2 separate regions of the Homo sapiens genome follow, and region 2 is linked to region 1. Evidence: promoter capture Hi-C in 16 types of primary human blood cells and fetal thymus (Javierre and others, 2016). All regions are on one chromosome and are shown on one strand. The core of a region is centred on a gene start or on the middle of the fragment in contact, and the rest is flanking DNA. Distances in the headings are between cores, read along the strand shown. Region 1 holds the start of AP1G1 (adaptor related protein complex 1 subunit gamma 1). Region 2 overlaps ZNF19 (zinc finger protein 19).

Region 1 (5,394 bases), core at 1,098-3,597:
ACCTTCCACCTCCCAAAGTGTTGGGATTACAAGCATGAGCCACTGAGCGCCCGCCTGAATGACATTTAAATACCAATATATTAAAGCATGAAAAACACTGAGTTAACTAACATCTATGTGATAGCTCTTCTAACACCTTACTTGAAAAGTCTAAGTCAGAAATGGAACATTTCAGTAGTAACTGCGAGGGCATACTTACTAAATGAGTGAGCATTACATAGGTGTTCAGTGTTTGACAGTTCCTTTAAACCAAAAGAGAAAATTCCATTGCTTCAGGGTAATACAGAACTCACGTATCTAATAGTAACTAATATATTTTTGAAAAATCTGCTTAAATAACAAGATCACTGAGTATTTAAACTGAAAATATTGTTTTCTTCTGAGACATCATATGACCTATAGAGGAATTTATCTACAATCTCATTTCAATAACCTGATAATAATAATGCATCTATAAGTGGCTTAGCAATATTAAAAAGCTTGACTCAATTCAAGTTATAAATTTAAACTTCAACCACTAGACTGTGATCTCAAATAAGTTAATTTCTCTTTTGCAGATGTGAAAACCCAGGCTGAGATGAAATAAGGGTGATTCAATCACACTCGCCTAACTTGAAACGTAGGAAATGTATCAGTGAATAACTGTGAAATACTTTTTGCCAGGCACGGTGGCTCACGCCTGTAATCCTAGCACTTTGGGAGGCCGAGGCGGGCGGATTACCTGAGCTCAGGAGTTCGAGATCTGCCTGGGCAACATGATGAAACCCCATCTCTACTAAAATACAACAACAAAAAATTAGCCGGGCGTGGCGGCGTGTGCCTGTAGTCCCAGCTACTTGGGAGGCTGAGGCAGGAGAACTGCTTGAACCCGGGAGGCGTAGGTTGCAGTGAGCCGAGACCGTGCCACTGCACTCCAGCCTGGAGACAGAGGGAGACTTCGTCTCAAAAAATAAATAAATAAAAATAAAGACATACTTTTTATTCAAGCATGCTAGACTGCAAACATGCCTTTAGAATAAAAGTGACGAGATTACGAGTACTTAGAGGGTTCATATTTTTCAAACGTGAAAGTTAGGGTGTGTGACAAGTTAGGTATTTGACAAGTATTCTAGGGAACGGTGGAAGTGAATATTTAAAATTCAGCTATCCCCAGAAAAACCCAATACATGAAATCATTACAAGTATTTTTTAGAATCAGTCAGCAAAGATCATTACTGTACAAACACTTCAAAGTTAAGGTCACTAAGAAAGCACTAACTCCTCCCTTCTGTTAACTAATCACTGTAAAGCAGCCCAACTCTCCTTTCTACCTACCTCAGATTAATATTTTTCTCCATGGACAGATTTCCGTGCTCAGGGATATATAATAGGGGAGAAAAAAAAATACCACACAAGTGTCAGTAAGCACCAAAAAGCTAAGTATTCAGCACAGGGAGGGAATCCACATATGAGAAAACATTTGACAGCTCTTGCCTCCCAAAAGCCATTTAATCTGCTTCATAAACATAATCTGCTTCATAAACATTACCCTGAGCGAGTGGTTCGATGGATCTCCTACACCGAGTCCTAACCGGGAAACACAATCAACCGAACCGTCCCGACTCTTTCAGGCAATCAGGAAGACCGGGAGAATTATTAGACGCTGACGTCCGCAGGGCCAGGAGCTGAGAAAAGGGTAAACAGTATACTCGCAGGTAGGTTGAAAAAAACAAAACAACAACATATACACACACACACGAAAAATTGGGAAAGAAGTTGGTCGGAAGGTTAGAGAGAGGCGAGGCCGATGTCCGGTTCCGAGAGGACGGCACTGCAGGGGCAGGCAGCGATTAACTGGGCATTTGGATATGCTGGGAGTTATCTGACAGACCTGACACGGGTACAAGACACAAGAACGCTGATACGTGGCTCAGAGAAGACACGCGGGGGTGGGGCCCGCCCCGCTAAACCCCAGGCTCCCTGAATGAGCCCTCAAAGATCGCAGCCTGAGAAAGTCAAGGGTTCAAGGAGGCCCGTACCGGCGGGGCAACGCCACAACACGGAACGCCGCGGCGCGCGGAACCTCCCGGTCCGAGGCCTCGGGGTCGGCCCTCCAGAAGTCGGAGCAGCCCCTGGGGCTCCCGGCCTCTCCTGGCCCAGCTTCTCTGTCTTCTCTTCTCAACACCCACAGCCTGGGACTGGACCCCTGAAACTGAAAGGAAGCTTCCGGTCGAGCGCCCGCGGCAGCGGCGGGGCAAAAGCAGCAATATGCTCTCAGCGCCGGGAGTGACACTCACCGGCCCGAAACCTCGAATGAAACCAGCAGCTCCGGGGGCGGCGGCAGCAGTGGCAGCAGGAACCGAACATCCAAAATGGCGGCTCCCTCGGCCTCACCACCGCTACCGCAGGCGGAGGGATCCTGAGGAAGGAGGGAGTTTTTAACTAACTTCACACACTATTGAGGAAACTTCGCTCCCTGTCCTCCTCTCCTGGTCGTTTCCGTGTCCTCGTACTGCAACTTATCGTGCCTTTTCTCTCGAATTATCCAAGAACTCGGACCCTGCCGAGGACTATTTGCCAAGGAGGAGGCGACTGCTCCTGGCAGAGCGACGCAAACGTAGCAAGGATCGGGGCTGTCACTGATGACGCGAGACGCTGCTGCCGAGTCACCGCTGCGATGAGTCTGAGCGAGAAAGATCCGGCCTACCCCGTAGCGGACGGACATTGGTTCCGCTTGGTGAGGGGGTAGGGGGGTGGGGGGTAGGGGGGTGGGGGGGTAGGGGGGGTGGAGCTGGGCTACCAGGAAGCGGTGGAGCCACCTGGAGGGGGCGGAGCTAAGTCAGGTAGCCCAGGAAGTGAGAGCAAGCGAGACAGGTGGGGGCGGAGAAGACAGCAGGGCTGAAAAGGTCTTCGTCCACGGGAATCCCGAACTCTTTGCTGTCTCCTTTAAGATTTTTGCTTTCTTTATAACTTAAGGAGCATGCTCCAGGTGGTATTCTATGGTTTTATGGTGTCTTTGCAACATATTTTATGAAGAGTTAAGAGGATGACTGAAAAGAATGGATTCCACGCCCGGTACCGCGGTGCTTGCACTGCTCAAGTCACTTAAACTCTCCAGGGATTCAATTTCCTCATATGTAGAAAGAAGACTTGGACTCATGTTAGCTGAAACCCTTACAGAATGGGCTTTCGGTCTATGACTCCATGAATTAATAACCAGGGCCAAAGAAAGTCTAACCAGACAGTTCCTAACCTGATAAATAATTACTAACATATGACGTGAGTCTTTTCCATGTGAATGTAAAGAGGGCCTGATATCTTGGCCTGTTTAAAGGAAAGGTGACCTACCTAGACTAAAATCCTTCTGCTAGATTGGCAACAAAGTACAATACAACACAGCAGCAGGCTGGGTGCCAAAGAGAACAGAACCAACCACACAAAAAAAATTTTTTTTTTTTTTTTGAGACAAAGTCTCGCTCTGTTGCCCAGGCTGGAGTGCAGTGGCGGGATCCCGGCTCACTACAACCTTGCCTCCCGGGGTCAAGCAATTTCTCGTGCTTCAGCCTCGCAAGTAGCTGGGATTACAGGCTCCCGCCACCACGGCCGTCTAATATTTGCATTTTTAGTAGAGAGAGGGTTTCGCCATGTTGGCCAGGCTGGTCTTGAACTCCTGACCTCAGGTGATCTGCCTGCGTCGGCCTCCCAAAGTGTGGAGATGACAGGTGTGAGCCACCGGCCTGGCCAGAACTAACCACAAATCTTGAGTTTAGGATTTGGGTGTCATAGAGAGAAGGTTGCACTTTTTTCCTTAGTCATTTTCATGCAGGGATTTCAAAACACTTAACAAAAATTGCTCTAAGTAGGCCGGGCACAGTGGCTGACGCATGTAATCCCAGTACTTTAGGAGGCCGGGGTGGGCGGATCACCTGAGGTCAGGAGTTCGAGACCAGACTGGCCAACATGGTGAAACTCCATCTCCACTAAAAATACAAAATTAGCCGGGCATGGTGGTGGGCACCTGTAATCCCAGCTACTCGGAAGGCTGAGACAGGAGAATCGCTTGAACCTGGGAGGCAGAGGTTGCAGATAGCCGAGTCTGGGCGACAGAGTGAGACCCTGTCTCACAAAAACAAAAAAAAATTGAACCAAGTAGGCCCATCTGTACAATTTTGTCCCTGAACTACTGGGGCATGCCAAGTGGCTGGAAAGAAAGGAGGCCATGGGTGCGATAATAATTATCATTTGTATTATTAAATATTGATATCACATTGTTCATAAGGCACTTTCATGTGTATAATCTAATCTGACCCTCTGGACAACCTCCTGAGTCAGGCTAGGCAAGCATAAGTAACTTAGTTTTACAAATAAGGAAAAAGAGGCTCCAAGAAACTAACTTGGCTAAAAGACACATCCTCTCCCCTCCTCCACTGGGGTTCTGCTACAGAGCTATAGAGTGCCTTTTTTTTTGAGACAGAGTTTCACTCTTGTTGCCCGAGCTGGAGTGCAATGGCGTGATCTTGGCTCACTGCAGCCTCCGCCTCCCAGGTTCAAGTGATTGTCCTGCCTCAGTCTCCCAAGTAGCTGGGACTACAGGCGCATGCCACCACGCCCAGCTAATTTTTTGTATTTTTAGTAGAAACGGGGTTTCACCATGTTACCCAAGCTGGTCTCGAACTCCTGACCTCAGGTGATTCACCCACCTCGGCCTCCCAAAGTGCTGGGATTACAGGCATGAGCCACCATGCCAGGCCAGAGTGCCATTTTATAAATTAGCATAGGGTACCACAATCTTCCACCACCCCTACCTACCCACCCACCTACCTACCTACCTACCTACACACATACCTACACTCTCAGGGTGGATGGAGTCAACCCCCAACAAGTGGTTTAGAGAACAGAATGTTTACAGAATTCAGATCCTCTGCCATGCTGCTACTGTACAGTGCAACCATGGACTACAAGGCTAGTAAATAGTGGAATGAAGCCAAAACACAATTTCCTCTGAGGTATAGCTATGCAGGGAACACAGGCCAAACTTAGTTTGGGGTTTCCACATAAGTAAGAAGTTTGCAGGTTGCAAAGCAGAGTTAGCTAAAGTATTCCGTTTGGAACACCACAAAAAAATGCTTAGAGGTCAAATTTAAATGTGTATCATTGTGAACCACAAAAGAAAAATTAAGCCAGCTACCTAAGGAGGAGAGAGCTTTTTTTTTTTTTGAGACGGAGTCTCACTCTGTCCCCAGGCTGGAGTGCAGTGGCACGATCTCAACTCACTGCAAACTCCGCCTCCTGAGTTCACGCCATTCTGCTGCCTCAGCCTCCAGAGCAGCTGGGACTACAGGCGCCCGCCACCACACCTGGCTAGTTTTTTGTGTTTTTAGTAGAGACGAGGTTTCACATGTTAGCCAGGATGGT
Region 2 (5,394 bases), core at 2,145-4,644, 320 kb before region 1:
CAGCTGACAACCTGACTTCATCAACTCCTGAATGAACCTCTTGAATGAATCACCACTAACTAGAGCAGTGGTATTCAGAGTGTGGTCTCCAGACCACCACCAGTAGCGGATGCAACACTTGGGAATTTGTTAGGCAAATTCTTGGGCCCCACTCTGAGAGAAGTCCATACTTCAGTGAGCCCTCCAGGTAATTCTGATGTACACTGAAGTCTGAGAACCCTGGATTGGAGGATAAAATCCAAACTCAGGAAACTGAGCTGTATTAGGTGACAAAGTGATGGAAAGGTGCACAACTATACACAGAGAATCTATCCGGGAAGCGCTGCAAACAAAATTCCAGAGAAGGAACAACAAACTCTAAATGTAATCTGAAAGATGGCACAAGTGGCAGAGAGAGAAGGAAAAACAACAAGACTTTGTGTCTCTCTGGAAATGGTATCAGGGGAGAACATAGTCAACAATTACACAGCAATTTAGAAACTGAGTGATCAGGACTGCAATATAGTGTGATGTCAGACACTTGTGGAAAAACCAGAAGAGGGTGGGAGCTCCAAGGAAGCTGATATATCAGTGACACAGTCAGGTAGAGAAAACTGAAGGATGTGAGAAATATGAGATTATGATTTGGGATATGGTTCATGGATACTAAGTTACTGGATAAATAAGTGCCAGGAGAAAAGAAATGACAAAGCAGCAACTCCGTCTCAAAAAGTGAAATGTAATTCAAGAAATCAATTCTCTGTCCCAAAAATGTAAGGTACTTATGTTCACCTTACAAATGAATCCAGTTAAGATGCAAAGCAATTATGTGACTGGCTCAAGGCTATGATGCCACTGAGGCCTAACAGATCCCTAACTTCAGGTGTCCTGTTGGGAGTGTAGACTTTTCCTATCACAGCCCATTGCCTCACTTCGCCAGCAGTACTGACCTCAAGGACATATGTTTCCTGATTCTGAAGCCCAAACTTCCTCCTTTCTTTTGGAGGACAAATTAGATAGGCCCCCTCTTTCTTGTCTTCTTCCTGCTGTCCCTCTGCTGCTACTTCCCAAAAACCTTGTGCCCTTGCTGATCTTAGTCACTTCCATCCTATCCTGGATCCCTACATCACCAGCCTGAGTCCCTCGTTCTCACAATTCCCTCTGCAGAGGGACAGCTACTGAACCTGGGGATCCTCTGGCCCAGGAGAGATTCTCAGTATTCAGGAGGCTGTACTTCAGCTTTCCAGATCACTCTCTCCTGTTTCCATCTTCACTGCCCCTAGCTCTTTCCCCAGCACCCAGTCCTACTGGAGGGAATCAGCAGGGGTTTTCCTACTGCTTTGGCTCTAAGACTTGCCAGAATCACCTTTATCCACCTCATTTCCTTCAACTCAGACCTCCATAGAGCTGACCTCAGGGATCCACAGCTCACCTGGTATTGAGCTTTCAGAGGCATGGCTGCCATGACCTGGTCTCCCTCTTAGCAGGCAAAGGCTGAGGGAAGAAACAGAGAGAACCAACAGTGAGCTCAGCCCAGTAAAATGCTCTCTTTAGAGCAATAAATTTGCCAATAGCAAGCAGCATTCACTTACTAAATGCTCACTGGGTTAGTGGTGCATAAATATGTACTTTTTAATCCACATCATACCATGAGGTTTGTAATTCTGAGGAAACAGATTTTGAAAGAATAAGTAACTTGTCCTAGGACACCAGAGCCTGTCCTCACCAACACCAAGCTAAATGAAGAGCAAAACAAGCAAAAGACACCAATAAACTCAGAGCGAAACCTAACAAGAAGAATCTCAGACCTTTATTTTTAAAAATAAATTTGACTGAGAATATAAAAGGTTAAAAATAGCAAGTATCATGCTTTTGGATGAAAAATACATATTCTCTTATTTAGTCCTCACAACAATCTTTTGAACCTTTAATTTTTCCCAAATGAGAAGACAAGGCTAAGAGAATAATTTCTTCTACCAAGATCACTCAGCTGGTGAATGGATGAACTCGGATCCCACACTAGATCTGCCAGGCTTCAAAGGTCATGTTTTTGTCTGTTTGTTTGTTTGTTGAGACAAGAATCTCACTGTCACCTGGGCTGGAGTGCAATGGCGTGATCTCAGCTGACTGTAACCACGGCCTCCCAGGTTCAAGCAATTCTCCTGCCTCAGCCTCTCAAGTAACTGGGATTACAGGCATGTGCCACCACACCTGGCTCATTTTTGTAATTTTAGTAGAGACAGGGTTTCATCATATTGCCCAGACTAGTCCTCAAACTACTGGCCTCTAGCGATCCACCCACCTCGGCCTCCCAAAGTGATGGGATTACAGGCGTGAGGCACCGCCTCCTGCTTTTAATAACTACACTAAATTCTTTCCAATAGTAATCCTAACAGGAATGCTTTTAGAACTGGCAAAATGATTTTAAGGTTAACATAAAATAATAGACAAGAATGGCCAAGAAAACTCAGGAAAAAAATCTCAGAGCAAGTCTTCCTTTACTTGGACCTGGAGCAGGCATCTTTTTTGTTCATTGCCCCACTCAAGGGCCATGAAAACCAGAAACTGATTACCAAAGGACCCTGAAGGGCCAACTCAACACACTAAAACATCTGGGTTATTGTTTTAACTATATCATCTCTTACAGACACTTTGTATTCTAGTTAAACAGCAATATTCTATAAAAAGCCAGCATCTTCCCTACAGGGACTTAATGCATGATGCTGTTTTCTGCGAGCCTCATCTTGTGCCGCCACCCTCTTTTCTCTTAGTTTAGCTACAATGGCCTTCTTTCAGTTTCCTCTGTGCTAACTCAGGACCTTCATACCTGCTGTTTCTTCTGTATGAACTACTCTTCTCCAATCTCAGAACCATTACAACTGAGATTCTCTGCCTGCCATTCTCTCCAGTAATCTAGCCGCCATTCTCTCCAGTAATCTATCCACCCTTCACCTTCAGATCATGATCGCTCTACAGACCAGGTCAGGTGTCTCTGTTAAACACTCCACTCGCACCGTACTCCTTTTCCTATATACCACTTAATCCAGTTTGAAATTATATATTGATTTGTGCTTTCTTCATTCAACAAATATTTATCTCATACATATTTCATGCAAGGCCACGTGTGACACACAACAGATGAAGTAGAGAGAGAAGGGGCATGATCCTGTCCCTCGCAGAGCTTAGTCTAAAGGAAAGACACATTAATCAAGATTCTCTCAAATAACTTTTAAGTCCACAATTTAAATCACTGCCAGGGGAAACTAACGTGGATGGGAAGCTTAAGAAAATAAATTAACTAAGGTATGAAGGAAATCTTTACAAAAGTAACAGCATACGCAAAAGCCATGTTCTAGTAGTGAAGGATCAAGAACACTGTAGTAGCAGTCAAAGGAGAGTGTGCTGTTAGATGATGCTGAAGAAGTCACAAGGGACAAAGCCACACTTTGTGCACGTCAAGAACTTGGTCTTCGATCTACGTGCACTAAGTCACGGGCAGGTGGAGTGAAATAACCAGATTTGATTAATACATGACTTTCCCATTGGGCGGAAAGCTTCCTGGGGGCGGGGCCCACGCCCCGCCTCATTCACCGCTGCATCCCCGGAATCTAGAGCAGGAACTGGCACATAGCTGCTCAGTAAGCAGCTGTGGCCCAATGAGCAGATGGGGTTTGGGCGGCGTCGAGAACAGAGGCGTCCCTTCCATCCAGCCGCCCATATCCACAGCCTCCATTTCCCAAGGCGCCGATGCAGGCGTGGGGGAGCGAAGGCACCAGAGGGAGACCGGGACCGGCCCGCGAGCAGCCTCCGCTCCCCGGTCCCGGAGGGGCCGCCCTGTCTCCCTCCACTGAGGCAGCAGGGACGAAGCCGACAGCCTTCTCTAGAGGTGCAGTGCCTGAGCCTAGCAAGGACTCCTAGGCGACAAACCCCAACACTCACCTCAGGAAAAACAGAAAGCGGTGCGTGAACGGAAGTGCGTCACTACTTTGGCCTTGCACCCAGGCTCACACGCGTACTCTCTAGGATGCCGGAGCGGTCTTCTCAGTGGTTGTGTGGTTTTACTCCCGGGAGGAGTTTCCACCCGGGGATCCTCAGAGACCTTGAATAGGAAAGAAAGTATATCATTGTTTTCGCTAATCTCTAACCGAAATTTAGCATTTTCTTCTATGTTGGCAACAAACTACTGTAGTATCAGCCGTATCTGTGACTGTCACCGATAGAAATCACAGATATTTTCATATCACATTACAGTTGATGCAGATCTCAGAATATGGCTATTCTCGTCACTAATTTGAAATTGTCCTTGTTGTTATCGGGCCCACCTCAAGTCTTGTCATTACATTTCATCACGTTGGTAAAGCTGCACTTATATTTCTGTATCACAAATTCTAAAAAACTGTTTAATTGTATGTTCATTGGTTTTGAAGGTGTCACCAGACTGCCAAAGGGTCTTTGCACAAAAAAGCTGTCCTCCTTAGAGGTAAAGACCCAGACACGTTAAGAAAGACCAGGTCAGCAGGCCAGGCGCGGTGGCTCACGCCTGTAATCCCAGCACTTTCGGAGGCCAAGGCGGGCAGATCACCTGAGGTCAGGAGTTCGAGACCAGCCTGGTCAACGTGGTGAAACCTCGTCTCTACTAAAAATACAAAAATTAGCCAGGCGTAATGGCGGGCACCTGTAATCCCAGCTACTCGGGAGGCTGAGGCAGGAGAATTGCTTGAACCCGAGAGGTGGAGGTTGCAGTGAGCCGAGATTGTGCCATTGCACTCCAGCCTGGGCGACAAAAGCAAAACTCCATCTCAAAAAAAAAAAAAACCAAAAAAACAAAAAAAAACAAAAAGAAAGAAAGACCAGGTCTAAGGAGGGATATATTAAGTAACTATTTAGGAAGTGAAAACGGTGGACATTTTTTTTTTTAATGACTGAATACAAGGCAGCCAGAGCAATCTATAATAGCCATGAATTTTGGATGACCTGATAGATGAAGGTGCCATTAGCTGAGATCAGGAATTGAAGAAGAGGAGCTGGTTTCAGGCAAGAAGGTGAAAGAATTTAGTTTCAAAAATACTGAACACACACACACACACCTGCCTTATTAACATTTAATTCACACACCATACAATTCATCAATGCAGAGTATAAAATTAAATAGGTTTTAGTGTGTTCAGAGACTTGCGCAAACATCACCACAATCAGTTTCAGGACATTTTCATCTCCCCAAAGGAACCTCATAACCATCAGCAGTCACTCTCCATTTTCCCTCTGGTAAGCAGAATGGTGTTTTGTTCCCCTCAAAGATGTATATGTCCTAATCTCTAGAACCTGTGAGTACATTAAGTTACATGACAAAGGGAAATTGAGGTTGCAGGTGGAATTAAGATTGCTAGTCAGCCAACTTTAAGATTATCTTGGGGC

Evidence for each region. Contacts are between HindIII fragments. The CHiCAGO score rates a contact against its expected background, and 5 or more counts as called.
Region 2: a contact is called between a fragment that was not itself captured here and the fragment with the promoter of AP1G1 in region 1, in 2 of 17 cell types (total B cells and total CD8 T cells). The highest score is 9.0, in total B cells.

The regions. Positions count from the first base shown.
Region 1 is chr16:71,806,487-71,811,880 of GRCh38, forward strand. It overlaps AP1G1 (adaptor related protein complex 1 subunit gamma 1), which reads right to left and starts at 2,348. Exons shown (of 23, transcript NM_001128.6): 1 at 2,277-2,348. LOC124903714 (a long non-coding RNA gene) reads left to right here and starts at 2,472. Exons shown (of 2, transcript XR_007065110.1): 1 at 2,472-2,716. RefSeq lists enhancers at 1,479-2,126, 2,070-2,759, 3,320-3,399. The HindIII fragment of the contact is 17,673 bases long and covers 2,201-5,394 here.
Region 2 is chr16:71,480,671-71,486,064 of GRCh38, forward strand. ZNF19 (zinc finger protein 19) reads right to left here. Exons shown (of 6, transcript NM_006961.4): 2 at 3,919-4,078; 3 at 1,412-1,473. The coding sequence starts at 1,444. Among named protein-coding and RNA genes, the nearest start is that of ZNF19, 6.0 kb to the right of the region's middle. RefSeq lists an enhancer at 3,198-4,107 and a silencer at 3,675-3,954. The HindIII fragment of the contact is 274 bases long and covers 3,258-3,531 here.